Linked DNA regions of Homo sapiens: all the other regions are linked to region 3. The links are contacts of gene promoters, found by promoter capture Hi-C in human tissues and cell types (Jung and others, 2019). All regions are on one chromosome and are shown on one strand. The core of a region is centred on a gene start or on the middle of the fragment in contact, and the rest is flanking DNA. Distances in the headings are between cores, read along the strand shown. Region 1 overlaps MIR550A3HG (MIR550A3 host gene). Region 2 overlaps FKBP14 (FKBP prolyl isomerase 14). Region 3 holds the start of WIPF3 (WAS/WASL interacting protein family member 3).

The links. The method cuts DNA at HindIII sites, captures the fragments that hold promoters and counts their contacts. A contact is called where the count stands out against the background at its distance.
Region 1: a contact is called between a fragment that was not itself captured here and the fragment with the promoter of WIPF3 in region 3, in 2 of the 25 tissues and cell types used here (mesendoderm cells and neural progenitor cells).
Region 2: a contact is called between a fragment that was not itself captured here and the fragment with the promoter of WIPF3 in region 3, in 1 of the 25 tissues and cell types used here (dorsolateral prefrontal cortex).

What each region holds. Positions count from the first base shown.
Region 1 is chr7:29,664,894-29,668,876 of GRCh38, forward strand. The region is part of intron 1 of MIR550A3HG (MIR550A3 host gene); the gene reads right to left. Among named protein-coding and RNA genes, the nearest start is that of MIR550A3, 14 kb to the right of the region's middle. The HindIII fragment of the contact is 5,345 bases long and covers 1-3,983 here.
Region 2 is chr7:30,012,899-30,016,375 of GRCh38, forward strand. FKBP14 (FKBP prolyl isomerase 14) reads right to left here. Exons shown (of 4, transcript NM_017946.4): 4 at 1-1,995. The coding sequence ends at 1,837. All of the region lies in intron 2 of FKBP14-AS1 (FKBP14 antisense RNA 1), which reads left to right. Among named protein-coding and RNA genes, the nearest start is that of FKBP14, 12 kb to the right of the region's middle. The HindIII fragment of the contact is 5,507 bases long and covers 1-3,477 here.
Region 3 is chr7:29,804,552-29,808,045 of GRCh38, forward strand. It overlaps WIPF3 (WAS/WASL interacting protein family member 3), which reads left to right and starts at 1,957. Exons shown (of 9, transcript NM_001080529.3): 1 at 1,957-2,127. RefSeq lists an enhancer at 1,693-2,602. The HindIII fragment of the contact is 12,406 bases long and covers 438-3,494 here.

The DNA.
Region 1 (3,983 bases), core at 1,253-3,752, 140 kb before region 3:
AATTTTAGCAGAGAGTTGGACACTATAAGAATCGAAGGGAAATGCTGAAAATAAAAACAAGAAGTAAAAAATGCCTTAGATGGGCTCATCAGCAGACACAGCACAGCAGAAGAAATAATCAGTGAGTATGAAGATAGGTCAATAGGAATGCAAAGAGAAAAATAATGGAGGAAGGAAATGATAAGAGCATCTAAGAGCTGTGACACCATATCAAATATTCTAATATATGCATAATTAGAATCCCAGTGGGAGAGGAAAGGATGAGGAAGAATAAACATTTGAAAAATAAATGACTGAGAATTTTCCAAAATTAGTGACAGATACCAAGCCACAGATCCAAGAAACTCAGAGAACAGCAAAAAGGATAAATACCAAACAAATGCATGAATGAATAGATAAACAAACCAAACATGCATATACAAACCTGGGGGTAAATGTAAACACATTAAAGAGTATGAGACAGAGACTATCTCACAAAGCCTAAAATACTTATCGTCTGGCTCTCTATAGGAAAAGCTTACTGACCTCTTGTCTAGGAGAATGAATAGACTAGGGATATAATGTGAGTTTCTTGGGCAGCACCAAGGGCTTCATTTGAGGTTGATGGTCTTGAACTGAGAACAAAACCAGCCAACAGAATTGTGTTTCTCCAGCTATAATCAGATTCCCAAGTATAAACACGGAGAAAATGGAGAGTTGGATTTAATCATGTTGGGTCAGCTTTCCCTTGGATGTAGAAAGCCAAAAAGAACATTGCTCATGGCCTTCCAGCAATGTCAGCAGCAACAACAACAAAAGCCAGACAGTCTTCAAATTGACAACTTTTCCTGAAGTGGTCAGGGAGCTGAGGTCACAGGACAATCAAATAACCCAAAATAAATTAAAAAGAAAAACCATGTGCAAGGAGAACAGAAACAAGCATTTAATTATACGGGTCATGCCACTAGACACAATGGTAAAGAACTCAGCTCAAATTGTTCACCAGTCAGTCGGTAAATGCCTAGTGTGGGTTAGCAAGGGAATTTGCAATTGCTTACAGACATTTTTACACAGAGCTCATAAGGTGCTGACAAAAGATTAGCAAGAGTGCTCAGAAAGCATCCTCCATGGTAAAGCCTGGGAGAACAGCAGCCACTTAGAGAAAGGCATGAAACCCACCCACCCCGCTCTTCCTTATCTCCCCTATAAGTCTTAAACTCTCTTAGCTTAAACTGCTGGGGAAAAGTTGGGGGAAAACACTGTCCTTTTCACATTACTGGTACAAAAATAGGCCACAGATCCTGATTTAGTTCTTGAGCCTTACTTTTGCTAACCCCTTGACTCCTGTTTCATATCTTCTCTCTCCAGTTATCCCAAACCTCCTCTCCCGCTTTCACTCTCAGCGAATGACCTTGTTTTCTACTGTTTTCCCGTGCCCATTATGTATTTCCTAGCTGTATCCCAGGTGCCTACTTCCTGGAATATGGAGCTGATTCAATATCATATTTGTTGAATGAATGAAACTATGCAAATTTCCTTGTGCTACATACTCAGTAGTCAATGGATACAACCTAAGCACAACCAAAATTAGGTTTATCTGTATCCTCACCTGCATTTGGTATGGTCACTATTTTTTATGTTACTCATTCTTACACATATGTAGTGATATATCATTATGGTTTTAATTTACATTTCCCTGTTGGCTAATGATGATGTACATCTTTTTGTGCTTATTTGCCGTCCGTATGTGAAACGTGTCTTTATGTATTTTGCTCCATTTCTATTTGAATTGTTTGTTTTATGAATTTTGGATCTTAGGGTGTTCTTTATATATTATAGATGCTAATTACTTTTCATATATATGGCTTGCAAATATATTTTCCCACTCTGTAGCTTGCCTTTTCATTCTCTTAAACAGGGTCTTTTGCATAGAAAAATTTTAAAATTTTTATGAAGTCCAGTATGTCCATTTTTCTCCTATTGATTGTGCTTTTGGTGTCAAGTCTAAGGATTCTTTGCCTAGCCCTAGAGATAAAGATTTTCTCCTGTATTTTTTGTAAAGGTTAAGAGTTTTGCATTTTATATCTAACTGATCCATTTTGAATGAAATTTAGGTCAAGATTCTGTTTGTTTGTTTGTTTGTTTGCATATGGATGTTCATTACTCCAGCACCATTTGTTGAAAGTGGATCTTTCCTTTCTTTCCTTCACTGAATTGCTTTTGTGCCTCTGCCAAATATGTCAATTGGACATATTTTGTATGGGTCTATTTCTGGGTTCTCTGTTCTCTTCCACTGATTTATGCATCTACCCCTCTGCCAATACCATATAGGTTTTTGTTGTTGTTGTTGTTGTTTAGACTGAGTCTCACTCTGTTGCCCAGGTTGGAGTGCAGTGGCATGATCGCAGCACACTGCAGCCTCTGTCTGCTGGGTTCAAACAATTCTCATGCCTCAGCCACCTGAGTAGCTGGGATTACAGGCACATGCCACCACGCCCAGCTACTTTTTTATTTTTAGTAGAAATTGGGTTTCACCATGTTGGCCAATGTGGTCTTGAACACCTGCCCTCAAGTGATCCGCCCACATCAGCCTCCCAAAGCGCTGGGATTACAGGTGTGAGCCACTGTGTCTGGCCAGTAGTCTTAATTAACGCATCTATGCAGTAAGTCTTAGAAGCAAGTAGCCTGATTCCTCCTACTTTATTCTTTTCCAAAATTGGTTTGGCTAGGTTCTTTTTTTCTTTTTTGCCTTTTCATATATATTTTACAACATGCTATATCTACAAAAATCTTGTTGGGACTTTGATAAGAATTGCATTAAATTTGTAAATCAATTTTGGAAGAACTGACATCTTTATTGAATCTTCCAGTTTATGAACATGGTATATCTCTTCATTTATTTAGATCACCTTTGATTCCTTTCCTCAGCATTGTATAGTTTTGATCATCTAAGTCTTATACGTATTTTGCTAGATATACATTTAAGTTTTTCATGTCATAGAATTATAATTTTAATTTTGGTGTCCATCATTAGCACATAAAATACATTTTTTTATGTTTATCTTTTATCACGCAACTTTGCTGAACTCACTTGTTCTAGGAGTTTTGTTGTGGTTATCTTTTTGTTGTTGTTTTAGATTTGCTGGGATTTTTTACATAGTTCTGGCATGGGCAAATAGGGACAGTTTTATTTCTTACTTTTTAATCTGTATGCTTTTTATTTCCATTATTTGCCTTTTGCACTAAAACTTTTAGCACTGTGTTTAATAAGTGGTGAATGTGAACATACATGCCTTGTTGTCAGCCTTAGGAGAAAGCATCAGTATTTAATCATTAAGCATAATGTTAGCCACAAGTTCTTTGCACGTGATTTTTACACAGTTGAGAAAATCTCCCTTTTATTTCTTTTTTTTTCTGAGAGTTCTTACCATGAATGGGTATTGAATTCTTTCAAATTTTTTTTTCTGTACCAATTTATATGATTATGTGATTTTTCTTATTTTGCCTCTTAACATGTAATATGATGTATTTGAATATTGAAACAGCCTTGCATCCCTGGAAGAAAACCTCATTTGGTCATGGTATATAATTAATATATTATTGAAATCTATTTTTGCAATTTTGTTTGGGAATTTTGTGTTTATATTCGCAAGGGATATCAGTCTGAAGTTTACTTTGTTTTGATACTGTTGGTACTTTGTTGGTTTTAGTATCAAGGTAATACTAGTTTGAGGTAAAGAATTGGGAAGTGTTTCCTCTTCTCTTTTCCAGAAGAGATTGTATAGAATTGATGTTAATGATTTCTTAAACCTCTAGCAGAAGTCTCTAGTGAAAATACCTGGGTCTAGAGATTTCTTTTTGAAGAATTTCTACATTTGAATTCAAGTTCTCAATAGTTATAGAAATATTTAAATGATCTATTTTATATTGATTTTATTTATGGCAATAGTTTGAGTTTTTCAAGGAATTGGTATATTCCATCTAAATTGACAAATTTAAGTGTG
Region 2 (3,477 bases), core at 952-3,451, 210 kb after region 3:
GTAGAGGGCAGTAGAAGACACTGAACTTGGGGACTGAATACTGGTTCTGCAGGTTAGTGCTGACCCTGGGCATAACAGTCAATCTTTTTGAATGACAATTTCCTCGTCTATAAATTAGGTACAGTGAGATCCACCAGCTTGTTTTATGACTCAGAGCCATGAAAAGCGAAGATAATAATGCACTTAATATCATTTTGTACACTATAAAGGGCTACTCTTAGAAAATGAAGATTTGATAACTTTAAAAAAAAGAATTAAAGATAAAAGCCAATTTAAAATAAAATTATATATATTTTTTTCTTTTTTAAAATCCAGGATAGGTATTTATTCAATAGTAGCTGCTGTAGGTCTGCTTCTTTTTTTTTTTTTGAGATGGAGTCTTGCTCTGTCACCCAGGCTGGAGTGCAGTGGCACAATCTTGGCTCACTGCAACCTCCGCCTCCCGGGTTCAAGCAAATCTCCTGTCTCAGCCTCCCGAGTAGCTGGGACTACAGGTGTGCACCACCACGCCTGGCTAATTTTTGTATTTTTAGTAGAGACAAGGTTTCACCATGTTGGCCAGGCTGGTCTTGAACTCCTGATCTCAAGTGATCCACCCTCCTTGGCCCCCAAAGTGCTGGGATTACAGGCATGAGCCACCACACCCAGCTAACTTCAGTTTTTGATGAGACAGAAATGGGAAAATGTAGACTGGTTTACTACTTTATCTTATGATACAATGTTATTGTAGTATAATATACTATAGACTACCCATTAAAGAACCAGGAAGGATATTCCGCTAGCCTTAAGAAGTAAATATTGAATATAAATATAACTTTCTACCTCATCTATAACATATTGATACATTTTATTACAAAGAAACTCACACATAAATGATTTGTCCTATTTATCATAATAGGCCACCAATCACTAGGAGCCAAGCTTCATCAGCTTAAGTCCTAGGTAGCATGTCTCAATGCATACATATTTATATGTTATTAACCGTGTTTCTTTTCTTTTTTTCGAGACAGAGTGTCCAGGCTGGAGGTGATCTCGGCTTACCGCAACCTCCGCCTCCGGGTTCAAGTGATTCTGCCGCCTCAGCCTTCCTGGGTAGCTGGGATTACAGGCACGCATCACCACGCCCGGCTACTTTTGTATTTTTAGTAGAGATAGGGTTTCTCCGTGTTGGTCAGGCTGGTCTCGAACTCCCAACCTCAGGTGATCCGCCCGCCTCAGCCTCCCAAAGTGCTGGGATTACAGGCATGAGCCACCATGCCTGGCTATTAACCTTGTTTCTAACTTCAGCATTGCACATCTCCTTAGTAAAGCAGTAGCCATTAACAAGTCAGGTCCAACAACCATTTTCCTCTGGTCCTCAAGCAGAGACTCAGAGCCAGTTACACATAAACTATTTCATTATAACATGAAAATAGCAAGCCTTGGGCTATTGCAAAAGGCTTTTCAAATGTTGACCTCTAACTTGGAGAAAATAGAGGGAAGCAGAAATATAGGGTGCTAATTTGTGCTATAACCTGGTCTCATGTCGTGGTATATTCCCAGTTGCAACATTTTAAATTTATAAGTGAGAAAGTAAAACAAAGCTTCATATCTGTGAAAGTGAAAAATTGTCCAGAAGTCTTCTATTCAAAGACCAATTAGCTTTTTCTTCCCAATAACTTATCAGAAAGAAATGGGTACTTAGAAACCTAAGGGGTTCTTTAAATAGGAGTCAGAAAAAATATATAAAAATAAAAAACAAAGCAAGAAAGAACATTGTATAAAAATAAAATGTTCTTTAAAGATGACTGCCCTCTCTTGAAAGATGAGTGCTATATTAAAAGGGTAGATGTATCTCTATAACTCATCGTGTTTATATGTAAATTCTCTGGCAGATATAAACCCATCTTTGTCTTCATCTTCTTTATCAAAAATATCCTCCACCAAAGCATCATGATGACTTTCATTCACCACCGCACCATGTTTTTCAAACTCCTTCTTTAAATATGCTTTAACCTACAAAATAACAGATCCCATTAATAACTTGGATTCATAAGATACCCACATTGAGCCAATCAATATCACAGACATGGACTGTTATTATATTTAGTTCATTAACTAAATATAATACCTTCTAAACAGCCATTTTATGACATAGTTTTAATGATAATTAAAAAATAATAGAAACTTTTTCCCTTAAAAAAACTGTTGCTAAACTGCTAAAGTGGAGACACAAAATATTGCTCAAAGGCAGGGCCAGGTGTGGTGGCTCATGCCTGTTATCCCAGCACTTTGGGAGGCCCAAGTGGGAAGATTGCTTGAGGTCAGGAGTTGGAGATCAGCCTGGCCGACATAATGAAAGCCCATCTCCACTAAAAATACAAAAAAAAGTTAGCCAGGCATGATGGCATGCGTCTGTAATCCCAGCTATTCAGGAGGCTGAGGCAGTTGAATCGCTTGAACCTGGAAGGCAGAGGTTGCAGTGAATCGAGATTGCGCTGCTGCCCTCCAGCCTGGGCAACAGAGTGAGACTCTGTCAAAAAAATAAAAAATTAAAAAATTAAAAATATATATATATATATAGCTCTCTCTATATATATATTGCTCAAAGGCAGAGATAAAGCTTATGTCATGTATACAATCCTCATATAGGGCTTATATTATTGGAGAATACCCAATGAGAGCATACTACTTGTTCTTAATCTGAATCTAAATACTAGGCATTTCTTTTCTTTTTTTAGACAGAATCTTTTTTTTTTTTTTTTTGAGACGGAGTCTCACTCTGTTGCCCAGGCTGGAGTGCAGTGGCGCAATCTCGGCTCACTGCAAGCTCCGCCTCCCGGGTTCACGCCATTCTCCTGCCTCAGCCTCCCGAGTAGCTGGGACTACAGGCGCCCGCCACCACGCCCAGCTAATTTTTTGTATTTTTAGTAGAGACGGCGTTTCACCGTGTTAGCCAGGATGGTCTCGATCTCCTGACCTCGTGATCTGCCCGCCTCGGCCTCCCAAAGTGCTGGGATTACAGGCGTGAGCCACCGCGCCCGGCCTTTTAGACAGAATCTTGCTCTGTCACCCAGGCTGGAGTGCAGTGGCACCATCTCAGCTCACTGCAACCTCTGCCTCCCAGGCTCAAGCAATCCTCCTACCTCAGCCTCACACGTACCTGGGACTTACAGGCATGTGCTACCACATCTGGCTTTTATATTTTTTGTAGAGATGGGGTTTCACCATGTTGCCCAGGCTGGTCTTGAACTCCTGGGCTCAAGCAATCTAAACCCCTCAGCCTCCCAAAGTGCTGGGATTAGAAGCATGAGCCACTGCACCCCATGGACACTTCTCTTAAAACTAGATTAAATAGTGGCATCTTTGACTTGAATAAATGTCTGCAAGTAGTGGGTCTTTTGGGTTTTGGTTATGATCATGTGATTAGATTGAGTCTAATCACAACCTTTCAATCTCAGAAAGTCAGGTCTGATAAGTGCCTAGACTACAATTTTC
Region 3 (3,494 bases), core at 707-3,206:
AAATAACAGGCTTTCCATCCAACTGGCTCATGCTTGGGCTGCTCAGGAGATCTGATGGGAACTCTCTAGGCCCATGGCAATGTCTTCTCTAATAGTTTGACTTTTCTTCCTTTTTGAATTAGAATACTAGTGGTTATGTATTTAGTGAGCTTTAGCACTGGAGGTCCAGAGAAGGAGAGTGGCTGGGTCATGTTTTGGGGTTTTGGGTTTTGTTTTTGTTTTAGTAACAATCACCCATGTAAGAGGGCTTATGAATTTTATGTTGGAGAACTGTTCTTCAGGTTCCATACCTGTGGTCATCTATTATGATTCTAAAGGAGGAAAGGGCAAGAGGAACTCAGGACAAACAGGTGGAAAGCAAGTGCCTCATCAGCTTCCACTCACTACACATAGACCTTTCGTCACCTAAATCAAAAGAGAAAACCATGTTCTTGACGACACTGGAGTGAAAGACATCAAAAGTGTATTATTAATCCTTGCTTTCGACACATTGCCCAGCTACAAACATGAGTAATTAAGAGATCAGCTAAGGGCTGCTTGGGGAACATACTTTGACAGCAGCCACTACAGAACTTGAACCTGAATACAGGCTGCAATCCACGTGTGAGATCTTCCCTGCTGGCATTGGCTGCTCCCTCACCTGGGTCCCCAACATTTCACACAAGCCTCAGCACAGCGCTGAGCGCCAGGTTTCTCCTCTATTCCAGACCAGCAGCAACTTTAGAGTTAGACACCTTGCCCTGAGGCCCTGCAGAGTGTCTGGCTCATGGCAGATACTCAAACACCGAGGCTGAGTGAACAGTCCACGAGTACCCGCTTAGCTCCTCCACTAGCAGGAATGCCCAGGACATGGGCAATACAGAATCCTCACCCAATGATCTCAGCACCTACAGCAATGCATTCAGCCTCGGACACAAACTTTCTGCATCCTCCAAGGGCCTGAACAAGAAATGTGACAGAAGCAAGGTTTTCCGTTCTTCAAGCTTATTTCAGGTTTGTTTTTGTTTGTTTCTTTGTTTGGTTTGGTTTGGTTTTTTGAGACAGGGTCTCACTCTATCGCCCAGGCTGGAGTGCAGTGGTTCATTGCAACTTTTGCCTCCTGGGTTCAAGAGATCCTTCCACCTCAGCCTCCCGAGTAGCTAGGACTAGAGAGCGCCACCACACCCGGCTAACTTTTGTATTTTTTGGTAGAGACAGGGCTTCACCATGTTGGCCAGGCTAGTAACTCCTGACCTCAAGTGATCCGTCCACCTCGGCCTCCCAAAGTCCTTGGATTCCAGGCTTGAGCCACCGCGCCCGGCCCTATTTCAGTTTTCAGTCTGCTTTCTCCTCCCTTCGACTCTACCTGGGACATCAATCTACCTCCCCAGGCTACCCGGATAATTCTCTCATCACCTGGCTAATTCACACTCAGTCTTCAGTTTTTCTCGTCGACGTCAGCTCCTCAAGAAGCCCTCCCTGACCTACTCCCCACCCCAAGTTTAGATCAGGTGCTCCCTCTGGGAGCCGGCTCAGGAGGCCTCTGCCTCCTCTTGGTTGTGCTGTAATCGCCCATTGGTCGCTTTCCTTTTCTAGACTGTGAACTCCACGAGGGCAAGAGGTAATCTTGTTCTCTCGTCCCCATCGCTTATGACACCGCCTGGAGCTTAGTAAGGGCTCAACATTTTGGAATAAATTCAAGGAGTGGCGTGTCCCCAGAGTAGCTGTGCTGGGCCGTGTGCCGCCCGCGCAACAGCTCCTATTTGGGGAATTCCAGCCTTAGGCCTCAGTCTCTCCGCAGCTGAGACTTGGGACTCTGTACCCGGGAGGCGCGCCCGCCGACTTGGGACCCGCCTCCAGGGTCCCAGAGCGACCCCGCCCGCCGGGGCCGTGTCCCTGCCGCGGGGCGGCGGCGGCTCCCAGGCAGGAGCCTGCGAGCAGGTGGGGGCGGCGGCCCCGCCTCCGCGTCCCGGCAGCACCAGAGCCGGTGGCCGGGGAGCGAGCCGGGCGCACCGAGCGCAGCTCGGCGGTAGCGGCGCCGCTTGGAGCACGGGCGCTGCGGGACGGAGCCCGGAGCCGGAGGCGGCGGCGGCGGAGACGTCGGCCGGAGCTCGAGTCCAGTCCAGCCCCCGGCTCCGCCACCTGCAGGTAGCGGCTTCCCGCGCGGGTGCGGGTCGGTGCCCGAGGGTGGAAGGAACGGGCGGTGTGGCGGCCGCCGCCCTGGTCGGTCCCGGAGCAGAGTGGCCCGGCCCGGGACAGAGATCCTGAGGGCGTGGGAGGGCCGGGGAACCCCCGCCGGGCTGCAGCCCCGGGCCCAGGAGGTTGTCGACGTGCCGCGCGGCGCTCACGCCCCCCACCCGCACCCTGCCACGCCGCCCCGGCCGGGCCGGGCCGGGCCGGGCGGAAACAAACCGCGGGGTGGGGAGCGAGGTCACCACGGGGTTGCTTGGTGACTTCTCCGGACTGGACTCCCCGGTGAGCAGCCCCTGGCACCGAGGCCGCCTCGGCCTGGTCCTTCGCGACGCTCTCTCTTCTCCGCTTCGCCCCCGGAACAAAAGGCTGGGGTCTCGCTGGGGAGGGGGCTGTCGCGGGAAGGGCTGGGGCGGAGTAAAAGAGAGCTAGGAAATTGCAGAGCCGGAGGTGGCTTGGGGAATACAGAAGGAGCCCCCTAGTGAGGAAGCCAACTCCAGAGATGTGAAGTGACTTGTCCAAGGTCACACAGCTCATGGGGACAGAGCGCAGGTCTCTGGACACCCCTCCCGTGCTCATCTCCAAGCCCCTGGGGTCAGTAGTCAGACTGTGCTCCAGCAATGTACATTTGGCCACAAATGGGTTTAGGGTCCTTTGGAGGATTAGGTGGTGGGTAGGTAGGTGGCAGAGCAGATTTCCCCCAGCCCCTGACACGCACTCTCTGAAGGTGGCGGGGAGGGCGGGCACCCGGCCGCCCTGGACCTGGAGGAGCGCCGCCCGGGCCCCGTGGGCAGGCAGGCACCGGCTCTCAGGAACAGCGCCTTTGGAGGGTGGCGTGCCAGCCGCGTGGGTGTGCCCGTGGCGGGCGCCGGGGCGGCGTGGGGACCGTGTGTGCGCCTCCCTCTGGAAAGAAGTTTCTGCAGGGAAAGGCCAGGAGAGCGGTTCCATGCGCCCTGGGACAGTGTGGCCAATCCCTGACACTCAGGGCGCTTTGTAACTGGCTGTATTGGGGAGGAAAGTTACTCTGTAGCAGGAAGTTAGGCTGTCTCTTCGCCTCTGTGCCTGGGGTCCTTGGCTGTAAATGAGGGCCTTGTTTGGCATGACCAGTGTGATTTAGAAGGTTTGTGCCCCTCCGCCTCCTCCTTTCCAGAATCTTTTCTCACTTCACAGGGAGGACTGGGAGTGCACTTCTTGTGCCCAGCATTAATAGTTATCACTGGGACTCCTGCCTCCCTTCAATTTTTTTTAACTTTATCATTACGAAAGAGGTCAGAGGAGAGGTTGTTTTTGGGCCTTGCAAGGAGATAAACTCCAGGTCAATACCT